Linked DNA regions of Homo sapiens: region 1 is linked to region 2. The links are contacts of gene promoters, found by promoter capture Hi-C in blood cells and fetal thymus (Javierre and others, 2016). All regions are on one chromosome and are shown on one strand. The core of a region is centred on a gene start or on the middle of the fragment in contact, and the rest is flanking DNA. Distances in the headings are between cores, read along the strand shown. Region 1 has its middle 57 kb from the start of LMX1B-DT. Region 2 holds the start of MVB12B (multivesicular body subunit 12B).

Region 1 (3,167 bases), core at 572-3,071, 230 kb after region 2:
AAGCCGAGGTGGGCAGATCACAAGGTCCAGAGTTCAAGACCAGCCTGACCAACATTGTGAAACCCCATCTCTACTAAAAATACAAAAAAATTAGCCGGGCGTGTTGGCGCGCACCTGTAATCCCAGCTACTCAGTAGGCTGAGGCAGGAGAATCGCTTGAACCTGGGAGGCGGAGGTTGCAGTGAGCTGAGATTTCACCATTGCACTCCAGCCTGGGCCACAAGAGGGAGACTCCATCAAAAAAAAAAAAAAAAAAAAAAAAGGAAGAAGAAATAAGGTGCAGGCCGGGCATGGTAGCTCACATCTGTAATCCCAGCACTTTGGAAGACTGAGGCTGGCGCAGATCACTTGAGGTCAGGAGTTCGAGACCAGCCCAGCCAACATGGTGAAACCCCGTCTGTACGAAAAAACTACAAAAATTAGCCGGGTGTGGTGGCTCTCGCTTGTAATCCCAGCTACTTGGGAGGCTAAGGCAGGAGAATCACTTGAACCTGGGAGACAGAGGCTGCAGTGAACCTAGATGGCACCACTGCACTCCAGCCTGGGTGACGAGAGAGACTCCGTCTCAAAAAAAAAAAAAAAAAAAAAAGTAAGGTGCAGGTATTGTCCACGGAATGCTACCATTTATATAGAAGAGAAAAAAAGAAATAGCAGGTATTTGCAACCTGTAGACTCTCTCTGGAAATCTCTAAGTCCCCGGTATCAGTGGTTGCTTCTTGGGAGGGGCCAGGGACCTGTGGACAACAGGGGAGCGAAAGAGAGGAAGACAGACACTTCAAAGCCTTATTATCTTATTTTATACCACTTTTGAATTCTGTACCACATGCTTTTTATAATAGGATTTTTTTTTTTTTTTTTTTTTTTGAGAAGGAGTCTTGCTGTGTCACCTAGGCTGGAGTGTAGTAGCACGAACTCACCTCACTGCAAGCTCCGCCTCCCAGGTTCACGCCATTCTCCTGCCTCAGCCTCCCGAGTAGCTGGCACTACAGGCGCCCACCACCACGCCCGGCTAATTTTTTGTATTTTTAGTAGAGACGGGGTTTCACCGTATTAGCCAGGGTGGTCTCGATCTCCTCACCTCATGATCCGCCCGCCTCGGCCTCCCAAAGTGCTGGGATTACAGGCATGAGCCACCGCGCCCGGCCTATAATAGGATTTTAAAAAAGATAACATTTAGGGAATAAATCACCTGTTTTTCCAATATAATGGTTTTACTATTTTTCTTTGGTGTAAAGCTTTGTTGTCTATTCACCTGTGTTCAGATCCCAGCCCCCACCACTTCCTGGCTCTGGGCCTTGGCAAGGGGCTTCTCCCCAGGAGCCCCAGGATGGCAGCCCTGGGGGGAATGAGAATGACATGCGTTTGGTGCCCGGCACATGGCGGGTGCTCCCCCGTTCTGAGGGCCGCCCGCACACTCCGTTCAGCCTGGAGCCCCTCTCCCCCTGGTGTGGGCCGGGACCACTTCTGGCTTCAGCTGGGACCTTCTCTCCCCTTAGGAGTGGTCCTGACCAGCTCTGACCCCAGGCTTGGCCAGGGAGTCCCCCCATGGAGCAGGGACCTGGGAATAGCGGCCCCCAAAGAAGGAGTCCTCCTCTGAGGCTCAAGTCCCGGCAGCCCTCATGTCTCTGCCGGCATCTGAGGCCCATGTGTGCGCTCTGCTGGCCAGGGGTTTGGCTTCCTTGTTTTATGACTCCCTAATCCTCACTTGGCAGAGAGGAAGTGGTGGGCCCGCCTGGCCGCGCAGAGAGTGACCAGAGGATCGGCAAAGGAAAGATTCATGGACCATCAGAAGGGCCCTTTGCCTCCGAGGCCGCCCCAGCCCTTCACGTGGAGATAAATCACAGGCAGCAGGGAAAGATAAAAGGTGCGGGGATGCAAGCCCTGTCTTACGAGAAGAAATGTGCGCAGGGGACGTTTCCCTGAACTCCTGCAGAGCTGGACTGCTGACGTCTCCACGGGCTTCCTAACTCGGACTGGAGGGGACTCGAGTCCACTCCTTGTCTTCTCCATCCCATTGACTTCACAAGGCCCATCCCTTCAGGCCCCTAGCATGGTACTGACCTTGAGATGACCCTGAGACCCATTCCTCACACTTCTTCCTCCGATCCAAAAGATCTGGCTTGGAGGGCATTGGACCTGTGTGGTCACACAGACCCTGGAACTCAGAAGGGTCCTGCCCCTGGCTTAATACTCTCCTGTCATTGTGTTGAAATTCTTAGTAATTCTGGAGCGGACATTCCCACACTTCATTTTGCTCTGGGTCCTGCCTGGCCAGGAGTGGCTTTGGGCATCTGGGTGCCCGTACATCCTCTCCAGCAGACGCCTACCAGGCACAGTTTGCACATCTCCGGCAATGAGGAGCTCACCTCCTCCTGGGCAGCCCCCCCAAGTCCACCATAGAGCAACAGAAGCTTGGAGGCCCTATCTCATGGTGGTGACAGGAATGGGTCCCAGGTCACCTTCCAGTCTTGGTGCCTCACTGGCTGTGTAACCTGGGGCATGTTATGGCGCCTCAGTTTCCGGTCTGCAGAATGAGGCTAATAATAGGGCTGTTGTGAGAATGAAACAATGTATTTGGCTTAATTTTGTGCTTAATCAATGATAGCTGTTTTTGTATTTTACTAGAAAAGGCTGCCTTCCAGCAGATTGGGATCCTTAGGCCTGGCCAGTGGTTAGGGGGAGAAGGTGCAAAAAGATGCATAACCACCACCACCACCCCCAACCACCACCCCCAACCCCCATTCCCCTCCCCCCCCCCCGCTCCCCCGCAACACACACAGCCAGAAGCTCCCCTTCTTTTGCCAACCTTGAAGGTCAAACCTGCGCACTTCACCTGGGCTCCACCGGTCAGGTGCCTTGTTCTCTGCTGCCATCTGCTGGCTGGTATGGGGCACTGCATCACAGCTGGCACCAGGCTTCATTTGTCCCCTTGGAAGAGGATCAAATAATTCTGCAAGTGTTTTCTGAGGACCTGCCTGGGCATTGAGGATTTGTCAGTAAACACAAAAGACAAAGTTCCTGCCCTCTTGGAGCTGACACTTCTGTGTGAGACATGGATAATAAGCAAGAAATCCAATCATGTGATTTCTGCTAGTAACAAGCAAAATTAAAAGAAGAAAAATTTCAGACAGTGGGGAATGGCACTGGTGGACGGTAGGATAGTTTGT
Region 2 (2,804 bases), core at 35-2,534:
AAAATTTTTGTTTCTTTTGTTTATTTTTTCCTGTGTAACAGTTTAAGTAACATAGGGATGATCTGTGCCCTGATGGGAGGATAAGGCTTGCTGTAAAGCCATCTGAACCCATGGCATTTCTGAGTAGTGAAGACACTGGGAATGCACACGTGCATGGCTTCCCTACAGGATGTTTCCCCCGACAGCCCATTCTGCTTGGCACCCTTCTCTTTAGGATCAAACAGCTATTATGGAAAAGCCTAGAATGTGTGAAAATGAGACTCAATGCATTAGCAAATCAATGCTGATCACTCCTGCATGGTCCTCAAGTCCTAACGAATGCTCCAGCCTCCTGGCAGGAAACCTTTCAAATCTTGCACACGCTGGCCTCTGCCTGGGGTGCCTGGCTGGGCGGTGTGGGGGGCATGGTTGGTTAAGGCGCAGAGTCCGCCTTTCCTACCAGCCACTCTAGCTGAGGGTCAAGCTCTGGACCCTCCCCCAACCATCCAGCTCCATTTTATCCTTGGCTTATGCCTTCCCCAAGTACTGCAGGGTAGGACTCCTGCTAAAAACTTCTTCTAGATGCTTGCCTGAGGCTGGCCCCATAAACCTGATTCTAGGCTTCTGGGGATAAATCATCTAACTAATATAAGAGAATTGCTAGGCAATTGGGGTTAGTTTGAGACGACTGGCTGAGCTCACCTTAGGTGAGCTGGGGGGTGGGGGAAGATGAGCTGAAGGATTCTAGGGTTCAGTGAAGCCTAGAATGGCTGGGTGGGCGGAGAGTCCTTAGAAGGGTCCAACTTCTAGCCTGAGGGCCTGGGGGCTTCCAGGGATCTGCAGCCGAGCGGAAGACCGGTCTTGCGTACAGCGAGGCCTACGAGAGCTAAGTGGGCTGAGGGTCCCTGGAAAAGACCAGCCTGGGGGCGGGGACCATCGATGCCCCAGGCTCTAGAGGCCGTGGGCTCCCGGGGGCCTGAGGCTGGACTGGGGTCGCCGGCGGGCTCGGGGAGGCCCGGGTGGGCGCACCGGGGCCCTGCCTGCGGCTGACGGGCTGGGTCGAGGGGGAGGCTGGGGAGGCGGGGTGCCGGCCGGGGCGGCGGCGCGGGCTCGGGACGCCAGGGCTCCCTCTCCCTCCTCCCGCCCGAGCCAGCCTCGGGCGCCGGGCGCCTCCCCCGATCCTGAACCAGCGCCAGCGCCGGGAGGCCCGGAGCCCGGCCCGCCGCCGCGGCCCGCGGAGGGAGCCGCCGCCGCCACTGCCGTTGTCGCCGCCGCCGCCAGGCCGCGCCCCGCCCCTCCGCCGCCGCCGCCGCCGCCGCCGCTCTCGGTGAGGCTCGCGCTCGAGCTGCGGCGCCGGCTCCTGCCGCCTGGGCCCCGGGCCCGGCCCCTCCCGCGCCGCCCGGGCGATGAGAAGCTGCTTCTGCGTGAGACGGAGCCGGGACCCGCCGCCGCCGCAGCCACCGCCGCCGCCGCCCCAGCGGGGAACAGTTAAGTGAGGCCCGGGCGCCGCGGAGGCTCGGCGGAGCCGGCCCTGCAGCCGGGAGGGCGGGCGGGCGGGCGCGGGCCCCCGGCCGAGGGGCGGGCGGACGGGAGGAGCCGGGCCGCGCCGAGGCCTGCGGGCTCCGTGCCCGGCCCGCGGCGGGGACAGGCCCGGGCGGCCTTTGCAGAGCCCCGAGCGCGCCGCGGCTGCCGGTGCCCGGGCTCGGCCTGGCGGCGAGAGGCGGGAGAAGCTGGGGGACCCGAGTGCCAGCAGCGCCCCCAAGGCCCGGGCAGGTGAGGGGCGCCGAGAGCCACCTCTGCCCGCGTGAGAGGGAGGCGGCCCACCTGGGCACAGACTGGGAACAGTCAATCGTTTGACCGGCCTGGCCTGGGGTCCTGCTCTCTCTGGTCACGTGGGTGCAGACCAACGTGCACCTGCCCCAGGAGCATCACTGCCTCTGTGACCTGGGCACAGCAGAGAGGACACCTAAACCCTCAGGCACCTGTCTGGAAGGTGACATGCCCAGCCTGGGTACCCGAGACCCAGAGCACCCATCCAGGAACATGGTGGGCACGTCGAGCACCCTACAGTGACTCCAACACCAGCGAGACGGGAGGAGCAGGGGCTGGGACAAGAGCTGAGGCATGGCACCAGGGGACATCACATCCTCAGAGGCAGGCACCAGGGAACGGGGTAGACCCAAGAGCATCTTTTGTCCTCTTTGTTACCAACACACAACTGTTCTAAATCAGCAGCCCTTCTCACCATGAAAGATGAGACTCTTCTGTTCCCTGCCCCTCAACACCTCTTGCACAAGGCACTGAGGAAGACCACAGGAGGGCAAAAGGCAAATGGTGGTTGCCCCTTCCCTGCTTCCTGCCCCCACCCAAGAACCAGAGCCCACTCCGATTGCTGCCACAAAAGCAGACAGCAGACCAGCTCCTCTTAGGGGCCTTTGTCTCTCGTGGTTCCTTCTCAGTATAATCTCATTGTACATTTCTCGACAGCTGGCTGGATCTCATCTCGTTTTAACAGGGCTGGGAAATCTTATCAGCGGCACCAGGAAAGCTTAGAGAGTTAAAAAATAAGCTCTGTGAAGCCTTGACTAACTGAAAAACTCAATGTGCTAGGATGTTTAGTTACAGTAGATGGTGACACCTTTCTTGCTTGTTAGAAATCATGTGGGGTCCTTGGAGATACTGTACCATGCTCAGAATCTTTAAATAGGGCCTCAGAGAGATGAGGCTTCTGCTTGGGACCCGGGCTCCAAGCCCCATGGGAAGCAGTTGACGTGGCGATTACTGGTTCATTTAAACCTAAACTTACCTTCTGTAATCCATATTTT

The links. The method cuts DNA at HindIII sites, captures the fragments that hold promoters and counts their contacts. A CHiCAGO score of 5 or more calls a contact.
Region 1: a contact is called between a fragment that was not itself captured here and the fragment with the promoter of MVB12B in region 2, in 3 of 17 cell types (total CD8 T cells, naive CD4 T cells and naive B cells). The highest score is 7.1, in total CD8 T cells.

What each region holds. Positions count from the first base shown.
Region 1 is chr9:126,555,353-126,558,519 of GRCh38, forward strand. No RefSeq gene overlaps it. Among named protein-coding and RNA genes, the nearest start is that of LMX1B-DT, 57 kb to the right of the region's middle. RefSeq lists an enhancer at 1,534-2,110. The HindIII fragment of the contact is 1,176 bases long and covers 1,234-2,409 here.
Region 2 is chr9:126,325,545-126,328,348 of GRCh38, forward strand. It overlaps MVB12B (multivesicular body subunit 12B), which reads left to right and starts at 1,285. Exons shown (of 10, transcript NM_033446.3): 1 at 1,285-1,466. The coding sequence starts at 1,386. RefSeq lists a silencer at 1,270-1,409 and an enhancer at 1,851-2,502. The HindIII fragment of the contact is 4,126 bases long and covers 1-2,525 here.